Linked DNA regions of Homo sapiens: region 1 is linked to region 2. Evidence: promoter capture Hi-C in human tissues and cell types (Jung and others, 2019). All regions are on one chromosome and are shown on one strand. The core of a region is centred on a gene start or on the middle of the fragment in contact, and the rest is flanking DNA. Distances in the headings are between cores, read along the strand shown.

Evidence for each region. The method cuts DNA at HindIII sites, captures the fragments that hold promoters and counts their contacts. A contact is called where the count stands out against the background at its distance.
Region 1: a fragment that was not itself captured here is called in contact with the fragment with the promoter of ADRA1A in region 2 in 2 of the 25 tissues and cell types used here (aorta and bladder).

What each region holds. Positions count from the first base shown.
Region 1 is chr8:26,768,552-26,774,642 of GRCh38, reverse strand. ADRA1A (adrenoceptor alpha 1A) reads left to right here. Exons shown (of 3, transcript NM_000680.4): 3 at 3,977-5,834. The coding sequence ends at 4,494. It also overlaps the pseudogene RPLP1P9. Among named protein-coding and RNA genes, the nearest start is that of ADRA1A, 96 kb to the left of the region's middle. The HindIII fragment of the contact is 7,858 bases long and covers 1-5,672 here.
Region 2 is chr8:26,863,705-26,869,656 of GRCh38, reverse strand. ADRA1A (adrenoceptor alpha 1A) reads left to right here and starts at 2,379. Exons shown (of 3, transcript NM_000680.4): 1 at 2,379-2,721; 2 at 4,002-5,570. The coding sequence starts at 4,688. RefSeq lists an enhancer at 3,158-4,109. The HindIII fragment of the contact is 8,811 bases long and covers 1-5,952 here.

The DNA of each region.
Region 1 (6,091 bases), core at 494-2,993, 94 kb after region 2:
ATGCTGGACTGCAGTGGTGCGCATTAGCTCACTACAACTTCTACCTCCCGGGCTCAAGCAATCCTCCTACCTCAGCCTCCTGAGTAACTGGAACTACAGGCACATGCCACCACACCCAGCTAATTTTTGTATTTTTAGTAAAGATGGGGTTTCACCATGTTGCCCAGGCTGGTCTCAAACTCCTGGTGTCAAGTGATCTGCCCACCTTGGCCTCCCAAAGTGCAGTGATTACAGGCGTGAGCCACCATGCCTAGCCCTTTTGCTGTCTTTTCTCACTCTTTGGAAAGTTCTTGAAGGAAGCATAGCTATGAGTCTCTCATCTAACCCCAGCCAGTCAGCAGCTGCTCAAAGAAAATCACATGGCTCCCAGCACCTGTTCCCCATCACAAGGGAAGAATACTCCAAGCATGAGAATGGATCCTGCAACCTGCCCCTGGTGGAACTATCAGTTTGGGAGCATGCAAATCCGTGCTAGGCTTACACACATCTGGCTGCTGTCACACACTTAATAGGATAAACCAAACATTGTCATTTACAGGAAGGTCTCTGGTCTGGAAGCATAAGCCAAAATCTAGAGATTTGCTTGGATTAAAAAGAAAATATTCCTGGGGTTAGGCCTAGAGATTATCTGACATTCAGATCTTAGTGTAAATTAGTTTTAATCAACTCTCTTTCTCACCCTATACCTATACCTGAGCCATGTTGAAGAAATGAGTGTTTTGAGTGGGGTACAGAGAGGGGGAGGCCAGGATTCACCTGTGAAGACTGGAACACAGCAAGAGACTAGAGAGAGGGCCCAAGAGCTTGGCTCTGGGTCAGCCATACCTGGAATTAAGAGCAGGGCCACGCAAGGAAAGAAGGGATGGGAAGGAAGTGACTAAAAGGAAATGTTGAGATTTACGAGTGCAAAACTGGGTTCTGTAAGCAGAATGAGTGTAATTGAAGGAATTATGGGAAATTCCAAGACTCTCAAACCATATTTATTAGCATTCACATTCATAGTGCATATTTTTTTTTCTTTTTTAAAAATTGAAATTCTTCAAATAAGGAAACGACCCTCCCCTCCCTCGCTGATTTACAGAGTAGTGACATTCCCAGACAAGGTGGGTTTCAGTGTGCTCAGCTCAGACATTCTTGTAGTCATTAAGCACAGGCCCAGGCAGGTCTTTGTGAAATGGGTTTCCTTAATCACATCACTGTCACTATTAGTAGGAAATATTGGACAATATATAGGTTTCATAATGTAAGACAAATTTTTTTCTGGAACTGACCGCATTTGCACAAAACCATCAGTCATGTTGGCATTAGCCATTTTTTCCATCACAGATGAGGTTCGAAAAAGCATTTTTCCAATTCAGCTTCCCCCAGCTGCACACTTTATCACTCCCCATCAGCTATCCTCCTAAGAGATGTATTATTGCAGTATATTTGGAGATTCCACAAAGGAGCATGGGCCCTGAAATCAATCACACTGCCTAATTTCAAACCTACCAGTAACTATGTGAGTGACCTCGGTTGAGCTACTCAAACTCATTAAGCCACAGTTTCTTCATTTGTAAAATAGGGAAGAGTCACATAACTCTTCATGTTACTAACGATGATTAAATCATATGGAAAGTGTTCAGCACAGTGCCTTGCCTGTTTCAAATCAGGCATTCAAAGACTGTAAACTTTATTATAATTATAGGACAACATGAAAAGCTTTAGAGCTAAAGAATAAAACTTTCTCACTTTACATGTTTTCCAAATAAACACCCATTGTGTGTGTGTGTGTGTGTGTGTGAATTTGAGACACATGGAACTTAGCAGGGAGTGTGCTTCAGAGGTAATAAATGCTCCCATCAACAACCACACTATTGTGTCTTCTTTGGGTTCTTCAGTATTTAAGTTTACTCTTTGTTTATATTGATGAGCTTTTTGACTTAATTTCAGAGCACTGTTTGCCAGAGTGGATTTTAATAGCACCAGCAATTTGTCACGGCTCTGATAGGTCCACAGAGCAGAGAGGAAAAGAAAGACATAAAATCAAGACCTTAGGTTTGAAACAACAGCAACAAAAAAATTGTTCAGGGCCATTAGGAATCATCCATTCAACATACTCCTTTTTCAGATAAGAAAACTGGAGGCCCAAAGGCATCATAGGAGTTTCCCAAAGCCATTCTACCAACTGTACACGAAGCTGTGACTAAAAGCCCGCGGAGAAGGAAAAGGAGCTTGGGAGCCAAGAAAGAAAAGAAAGGAGGTGGAAGGAAAGTCAAGATGTTATTTTGCAATTTCTCTGAAAGGAGTGAAGAGGGACGTTTGGGATTTCATAATTCATAAAGCTCCTTTAGCAAAAGCCCTTGGAAGTCTGAGAATCAGAGAATAAAGAACATTGGATTGGGAGTCCCATACCCTTTATCCATCACTCTTATCAGTATTGTAGCTATGAGGTTTGTGACAATCTCTTTAATAAGCATTTTTAAGAGTTCAGCTTTTTATTGAACGTGTTATAAAATAGGTTTACTCAAAAAAAAAAAAAAAAAGCCCATATTATCATCAGACTCCAGATTCTTCTTTCTTTGCTTCCACCTTCTTCTTCTCGGCCTAGGCCACAGTGACAGAAGGGCAGGACCTCCCGCAGGTACACCACCAGCTGCTGAGCAGGTCTTCCCACCCCGCCCCTCCACTGCAGAGGAGGCTCCCGAAGTTGACGATGGCCAGGGCCTTGGCAGACAAGCCAGGCCAAAAGCCGTCATCATTTACCCCAGCTGCTTTAGAAACGACATTGACCTTATCCTATGTGATGATCCCCTCAGCGTTATACAGAATGAGGGCTGAGTCAGTGCAGGCGAGCTCTGAGATGGAGTCCGTGGTGTGGACAAGTGCAAGGCTGGGCTGCCCGGAGTAGTGCTAGTGCTGGATGCAGTGAGGGCCTGACCCCAACGCAGCCTCAGCTCAGAAGGGCAGAGCATCTTGGCGGCAGCTGGGAAAAGGCTAAATAAGCATTTTTTAAATTTGTAAATTGAGTAATTGGAGGAGATAATCCTTAAGGTTGTTCCATTTTAAGACTTCACAGTTTTGTTCTTCTGCTGCGAAATGCCCTGTGGCAGTCTCTGCGCAGGATGTGACGGGTCCTGAGGCCTGGTTCCTGCCGTGCACATCAACGGGTAGGGTTTGGGTAGGTAGAGAAGGTGGAAAAGGGCATCAAGGACACAGTGGCCCAACTTGAGAGGACAAAAAAAATGATCAATGACCTGGAGAAAAAGTGTAGTGAGTCTGGCTAGAGAAAAAATAGCAACTAGTCATATTAGAAAGCTGGTTAGACCAGAGGCTGTGGAGGACTCCGAATGTGAAGCAAAGACACACATTTGGGAGACATCGAGGGATATTGACAAAGGGAGCTAACGGTGACATCAAAAGACATCATCTAGGAAAAGTGATTGAGAATCACTGGCCCAACTTTGGCAAGGCCAATATTGTGTAAAGTTGAGATTCTCATCAAAATCCATAATTCTAACATTTGGGAGGGGAGGAATTCATAAACACTGAGGCTGTGTCTGTTGCATAACACTGCATCAGAGAATAAAGGGCATGTTCAGATAACCGAATTTTAATATGGATTACTTGCATGGATTCCAACTTACTTTTCAATTTAGGCAAAACAATTTACATATGTGGACTCAGTCTGAGTTTCACATTTTCATTTGGTAAAACTTCACAGCAGCTGTTGGTCACTGAGAGCCAGTGCAACCCTACCCACTGGGCCTGCTCCTGTAATTAATGACACACGCGGACCAAGTAGGAATGGTCTTTGAAGATATTGCAAAAGGGTGACAGTCATAGGAGCTAGTCAGTCAAATGTGAGAAACTCATATGTGTTTGGGATCATTTTAACCGTTTAAAAATACAGAAAGATGTCTGTTTGATTGTTTTCCTAGCCAATTGGCTTGCTGGCTTTCAAATAATATGTATAAATCTGTGTGTTTTCTTCCAGGGTCTTTCTTCCCTGATTTCAAGCCCTCTGAAACAGTTTTTAAAATAGTATTTTGGCTCGGATATCTAAACAGCTGCATCAACCCCATCATATACCCATGCTCCAGCCAAGAGTTCAAAAAGGCCTTTCAGAATGTCTTGAGAATCCAGTGTCTCTGCAGAAAGCAGTCTTCCAAACATGCCCTGGGCTACACCCTGCACCCGCCCAGCCAGGCCGTGGAAGGGCAACACAAGGACATGGTGCGCATCCCCGTGGGATCAAGAGAGACCTTCTACAGGATCTCCAAGACGGATGGCGTTTGTGAATGGAAATTTTTCTCTTCCATGCCCCGTGGATCTGCCAGGATTACAGTGTCCAAAGACCAATCCTCCTGTACCACAGCCCGGGTGAGAAGTAAAAGCTTTTTGCAGGTCTGCTGCTGTGTAGGGCCCTCAACCCCCAGCCTTGACAAGAACCATCAAGTTCCAACCATTAAGGTCCACACCATCTCCCTCAGTGAGAACGGGGAGGAAGTCTAGGACAGGAAAGATGCAGAGGAAAGGGGAATAATCTTAGGTACCCACCCCACTTCCTTCTCGGAAGGCCAGCTCTTCTTGGAGGACAAGACAGGACCAATCAAAGAGGGGACCTGCTGGGAATGGGGTGGGTGGTAGACCCAACTCATCAGGCAGCGGGTAGGGCACAGGGAAGAGGGAGGGTGTCTCACAACCAACCAGTTCAGAATGATACGGAACAGCATTTCCCTGCAGCTAATGCTTTCTTGGTCACTCTGTGCCCACTTCAACGAAAACCACCATGGGAAACAGAATTTCATGCACAATCCAAAAGACTATAAATATAGGATTATGATTTCATCATGAATATTTTGAGCACACACTCTAAGTTTGGAGCTATTTCTTGATGGAAGTGAGGGGATTTTATTTTCAGGCTCAACCTACTGACAGCCACATTTGACATTTATGGGGAGAGGGCCTAGAGAGGAAGAGCATTAAGATGGTGGCCGAGATCCAGACACATTATTTTTAGAGCAAGTCCTGAAACTCCACCCTTTCTGATACATCCAATTTCTCAGCTTGAGGGAAACTTGGCAGTGAGGTTTACCTTTGACTGCACTTTGAATGGATGCTGCTCCTCATTTCCCAAAGATGAGAGTGAGGGGCACTCATGATGTCTTGGAATGTAGTGTTCTCTATCCTTGGGTCAGGAGAGGGTTGAAAGAACCAACCAGGGTGGTATGGCTTTTCCCAAGAGAAAACAATAGACCTGAGCATCATTCTTTCAATTTAACTACTAGAGAGAAAATCCATTAAACAGTTCCAAGATCAGATGATGATAGGCTTTCTCTCTAATATCTTTAAAGAGCAAGAGGTTGGTGTGGCTGTTAATTTCTTGCAAAGATAGAGGCTGTTCACTTACTGCACAGCCATTTCAACATGGCTTACAAAAGCCTTTCTTGACAAATCACTTACCTGTTCCAGAACTCTGTTATGAAAATCCAGAGCTTATAATATTTTGAAAGGCAAAAGATTGTCTCCCATTACTTCTTATCTGCTTCACTATTGCATAATGAATGAGCTTCACCTGTGGCATGTTGGAATGAGCCTTATGATCCAAGTACATTATTCCCGAACTTTGAAAAATACTAATGCTTAGCTTCAGACAATACTGATGGATCACCAAAGAACTGTCTAACGCAGGAGTTTGCAAACATTTTTTGATAGAAGGCCATTTGTTCTGGTAAAAGATCCAGTAGTCAACTCAACTTCATCTATTCCTACTTTTCTGCAAGAGCTTGGGGAACATGCTATATTTTGCTTTATGTATACCAAATTTTGGTAAACCATAATAACTCAGTACAGAACTTGTGTATCTCTTTTCTGAAATGCCTGGAACCAGAAGTGTTTCAGATTACAGATTTTTTCAAATTTTGAAATACTTGCATATACATAATCAAATATCTCTGGGATGGGACCCAAGTCTAAACACAAAATTCATTTATGTTTCATATACACCTCATATGCATAGCCTGAGGGTAATTTTATACAATATTTTTAATTGACTGTTTTTGACTGCAACCCATAGACATGAGGTCAGGTGTGGAATTCCCCACCTGTG
Region 2 (5,952 bases), core at 1,130-3,629:
CAGGTCCATTCTCTCTGGGCAGACAACATCACAAATGTGTGTACCCCAAGGCCTGAGGCCAAGAAGGCAGCTTTCTGGCTGTAGGGGCTGAGGTGTTCACACACATTTGCATGGCCCCTCAAGACAAAGAACAAGGGGGAAAGTGAGAAGAAAAGAAGCAGCCAGTGATCAGGGCCAGCTCTTGCAACTTAACCATGTTGGGTCATTCTGATTAAACCACTTAGCTCAAGTGTAGTGCTCAAGACACTTAGCACATTCTCCAGCTGAATTTACCAGTGTTCATGGACTACCTGGGTTAGAAATATATTTCACTATAAAGTAGCATACAAAATGAGCAGAAAGGGAGTTAATAAGATTAATAATAGAGTTAGTGAATATTATGAGCTGAGTTTTTGAGAAACGTAATTTCTTTCAACACTAATAACAACCTTGTGGGGGTTCATTGTCTCCCTTTAAAAATTAGGAAACCAAGGCTTTGCCATGGTCGCATAGGAGGGTCAGAATAGCATCTTTATGACCCCAGAGCATACTCCTCTCCACTCCACCTACCCATGTGTACAACTCAGACACTTTCTGGGATGTCCACGTCAACTATTCTTTAAAGAGTAACCAACAGATGGATAGTTTTCTGTTTGTGAATCAATGGTAGGTGACTGAAAAATTGGTTCTGAGAGGTCGTTTTGCAAGGATTGATGGTCACAGGCTGAGAAGCAGATTTGAAAGACCTACCTGCTAGCAGCATGAAGAGCTGCTCTTCCTTATCTTAGTATTAACTAGTTAATTATTGGAGGTGGGTGCAGGGGTGGATTATGTGTATTCTTAATTGTTGTAGAGTGGGGACTGGGAGTTACAAAGACTTTTGCAATTTTCGACCTTGCAGAGCTGAGCAATTTTCAGTTGCTTTGCTTGCTGATAGCACTGCTTCCCTTATCTACCATGGAACACATCTTAATGAAGAATTTGCATTCACAGCATCAGGTTAATGAATACAAAACAAAACAGTGTATATCCCTCTGATGGATGGGATTTCGGAAGCACAGACATTATACACATATTTGATGATAAAGTACTAGAAGTGCAGGGAATTGAGGTCAAGCTTCCTCCTAAGGGGACTGAATCCCAGAGAGAGCAGGTGACTTAGTAATGAGAAGTGGAGCTGTCTGTTCAACCAGGATGCTCCTCCTATGGCACGAAATTCAGTTTTAAAAATATATTAAATTCAAATCAAATGTGTTAGGTGTGAGTTCTATCCCTACAGGTATGAGGCAGAGGTGGAGGACTTTGTATACAATAGAGAAATAAATACATATATTAGGTCTTCCATGACATAGGATTTACTGACCCTCTCATGGGCATTCCTCTGAGGCATTTTGAGATTTATTGCTATAAAAGAGCCTCCCAAACATTATCTCACTTAGAAAAGGTAATCATATTAATATGATTTTGTTCACAGGAGAGAATTTAAGTGCCACTGCTTAAAGTTATCTCCTTGTTCCTAGGTTTAAGGAGACCTAGTAAATAAGAACATTCCACTTTGTCTGCATCAATAAAGATGAAAGATGACTTAGGAGGTGGGAATTGGAGTGGGAAACATTTTTCTATGTTCCCGATATTCTGAAACACATGTGACTTTATTCAATCACAAGGTAAACAGATTATGTAATTTACCAGAAAAAAAGTAATAAGACTGGTGGTGCTAGGTTTTCATACTCCAGCTATTAATGAATTAAAGAGAGTAACACTCCTGAAAGGATACCATTTTCTCAAGAAAACTGGAAAAGATTGTGTGGCATTTAAAAAATACCAAACTCTGTGGCCATAATGCTCTTAAAATTCATCTGTCTAAAGAAATTAGAAGTGAATCATATTAAATAAGGTTTAGATATGTCCACTTTATCTTCCTGAAAATATAATTTCATTACAATCAGATTTGTCATATTTTATCTGATTTTACTTGCTATTTAAAACACCTTATAATTTACTTGCATATTTAGAATTACAATATTCTTAATATACTTCTTGATCTTAACAAAACCTAGGCCAAATGTTAATCAAATCAAGCTGTTCAAAGTTACTTTATAGCACATTCCTATGAACACACCATACACACAGCAATATCTAGCAAGGGTGTCAATTTTTCGTTATTTTTAAAAGCTCATTTAAAGAAGTTATTTACTACAAATGACTCTACACACACACACGCGCGCGCGCGCGCGCACACACACACACACACACACACAAACCTTTTTAAAGAAACGCTAGAACCCAACCCCCTCTAGGCCAGAGGAAAACATTACAGCTGTATACGCACTTGTGCCTGTTGCCGTAGAGTAATACGGTAGCAGCAGGAGATTACGGTACTAGCTGGGCTACTGCCTGAGTTACGTCAGCGAGAGCTGCAAAGTTCCTTGCTATTCTTTTCTGGTGTCGGGGAGCTGAATATTAAAAGGGTGATTGTGGAGTTACCGGTTATCTGCATTTTTTTTTCTTTTCTTATTTTGACTCTTTTTAAAAAATGCAGGTAAAGTGACAGCGGTTCAGGAGCTTAAAGACATCAGTGGTGGAGGGGTGAGTCAGCGGGTGCAAAAGGACAAGGATTTGGTGCCTCGGAGACACGGTCCCCTCTCCGCCTCCAGAGAAGAGCAGGCAGGCAGCTCCCGGGACCGAAGCCGGGTCCACATCCCCCGCGCGCGAGCTGGTGGCTCAGCAGCGGCGCTTCAGGTGAGTGCGCCGGGGCCGGCGTCCCGCAGGGCCGAGTGGGTGAGGGCAGACCTCCCCCGCCGTCTGGTGAGACGGAACCCCCACTTTTCCCAGCGCCTCCCGCTTTTTCCACCAGGTTTTATACCGGCCCCTCTACCCCACCCCCGATTCCCTTACATCTTCTGCGAAGTTGCCTTCTACTGAACAAGTGTCTTTTTAACCCTGTGTTTATCACCCTCGAGGTAGGAGGAAAAGGGTTTCTGCAGTGGCACGTTTTTAATACCACCTGTGAGGTCTCCAACTTGCGATTTTAACAAGAGTCTTTGCCCGAGGTCCCACCTCAGGGCCCAACCCCAGAAGGCAAGGTGGGCACTTCCTCACGCCGCGCTGTCCTGCCGAGTCCCTGCGGTAGGTTCGCAGTTGTGGAAACCCAGGTTTCTTACGCAGATGGTGGCCCCCAGCCCAGAAAATCGAAGGCGGCCCCTGCCCGCTGGCATGCCGGCTTAATGTTTACGCCTGCAAAATCCGCAGTGACTGTCACTTGCAAAGCTCCCTCTGCAGAGGGACGTCCTCCCCACCCCGTCCCCCGCCAGTCCCGCTACGGCTGGCAGCTGGAGCCCCTCGGGTGGCCAACAGTGAGGCTTGGAAAGGCGTCGTGGACAGACCTGGGTCGCTTTCTGTCTTCGGGTCCCTCCCGGCTTCGCTCGGGACCTGGCTCTCAAGCCAGCTTGGCTGGTGGACAGACCGGTGCGCTCTGCACACCCGAGTGCGAATTCCACCGGCGTGAGAGTGAGCGTGCTCGTGGTCCTGGCCCTGAGGTCCCTGGGTCGCAGCTGTTCCCTCTCCCAGGCCGCCCCCTCCAGGTGACTGCGAGGCAACCTGTTCTAACGGAAACCGAGTACATCCTCCAGAATTCCCCGGCTAGGATCCGTGCGACACACTCGCCAGCCGCAGTCGCCCCTCCGGGGCTTCGAGGATTTTAATTTCGTGGTACCTGCGCTCGAAATCCAGACTTCGAGCGCTGGAGCCTGGGGTTTTGGGGATTTGTTTTTTTGTTTGTTTTTCGCTTCGGATCCTGAACTCGGGCAGAGGTGACTCAGTAGAGTGCGCTAGGCAGGTTCCCAGTGGTGGGGGCGCGAGATGAGCTCCGAAGTCGCCTCCACCGCTGCCGGGCGAAGCAGCTTCTGGACCGCAGAACCAACCCGGCTCCCAACTGGTGTCCCCCAACCCGTCAAGCTCAGCACAGCCTCTTTCCCTGGGGCGCCTAGCTCAAAGCCGCCTTTCTCTTTGCGCTCTTTCAGGTGGACGCGGTCAAACGATGCCCCGCAGCCTCCTGGGTCTCAGCACATATTCCACACCTACGTCCCCTGACCTGTGCTCCTAGAAGCTGGAGAGAGCAGGAGCCTTCGGTGGGGCAGCTCAAAATGTAGGTAACTGCGGGCCAGGAGCAGCGCCCAACCTGTAGCGCTGCGCTACCCAACCATCGGTCCCTGCCTTTGAGCGTCGACGGCTGATCTTTTGGTTTGAGGGAGAGACTGGCGCTGGAGTTTTGAATTCCGAATCATGTGCAGAATGCTGAATCTTCCCCCAGCCAGGACGAATAAGACAGCGCGGAAAAGCAGATTCTCGTAATTCTGGAATTGCATGTTGCAAGGAGTCTCCTGGATCTTCGCACCCAGCTTCGGGTAGGGAGGGAGTCCGGGTCCCGGGCTAGGCCAGCCCGGCAGGTGGAGAGGGTCCCCGGCAGCCCCGCGCGCCCCTGGCCATGTCTTTAATGCCCTGCCCCTTCATGTGGCCTTCTGAGGGTTCCCAGGGCTGGCCAGGGTTGTTTCCCACCCGCGCGCGCGCTCTCACCCCCAGCCAAACCCACCTGGCAGGGCTCCCTCCAGCCGAGACCTTTTGATTCCCGGCTCCCGCGCTCCCGCCTCCGCGCCAGCCCGGGAGGTGGCCCTGGACAGCCGGACCTCGCCCGGCCCCGGCTGGGACCATGGTGTTTCTCTCGGGAAATGCTTCCGACAGCTCCAACTGCACCCAACCGCCGGCACCGGTGAACATTTCCAAGGCCATTCTGCTCGGGGTGATCTTGGGGGGCCTCATTCTTTTCGGGGTGCTGGGTAACATCCTAGTGATCCTCTCCGTAGCCTGTCACCGACACCTGCACTCAGTCACGCACTACTACATCGTCAACCTGGCGGTGGCCGACCTCCTGCTCACCTCCACGGTGCTGCCCTTCTCCGCCATCTTCGAGGTCCTAGGCTACTGGGCCTTCGGCAGGGTCTTCTGCAACATCTGGGCGGCAGTGGATGTGCTGTGCTGCACCGCGTCCATCATGGGCCTCTGCATCATCTCCATCGACCGCTACATCGGCGTGAGCTACCCGCTGCGCTACCCAACCATCGTCACCCAGAGGAGGGGTCTCATGGCTCTGCTCTGCGTCTGGGCACTCTCCCTGGTCATATCCATTGGACCCCTGTTCGGCTGGAGGCAGCCGGCCCCCGAGGACGAGACCATCTGCCAGATCAACGAGGAGCCGGGCTACGTGCTCTTCTCAGCGCTGGGCTCCTTCTACCTGCCTCTGGCCATCATCCTGGTCATGTACTGCCGCGTCTACGTGGTGGCCAAGAGGGAGAGCCGGGGCCTCAAGTCTGGCCTCAAGACCGACAAGTCGGACTCGGAGCAAGTGACGCTCCGCATCCATCGGAAAAACGCCCCGGCAGGAGGCAGCGGGATGGCCAGCGCCAAGACCAAGACGCACTTCTCAGTGAGGCTCCTCAAGTTCTCCCGGGAGAAGAAAGCGGCCAAAACGCTGGGCATCGTGGTCGGCTGCTTCGTCCTCTGCTGGCTGCCTTTTTTCTTAGTCATGCCCATTGGTAAGTCTTGAACACCCCTCACTTTAGCATCTGGGGGTCTTCACCCTCCTCGGCTTCTGTTACCCCAGACTCCCAGTCCGGGATGGAAGAGGAAGGATTAGCATTTCAAACAGCACAGCTCTAGGGCAATTAGAAAAGGCTCCCTTGTAGAAAAGTGAATTTTCATTCTCTTTCTACTCCAGTCTCATTTATATTAGGTCCTAGAGCACTTTTTCGACTGTAAAGTGGCTTCCAACTGATGCAGATTAATTGGTCTCTTTAATAAGAATGTCAACTTTTCTTAATGCCTATAAGCACGTGTTCAATTTAAATGCATCTGCTCTCTCTAGTCTCAGAGTCTCCACCAAGTGCTTAGGCTGACTGTGGAATGCCATTTTCACTC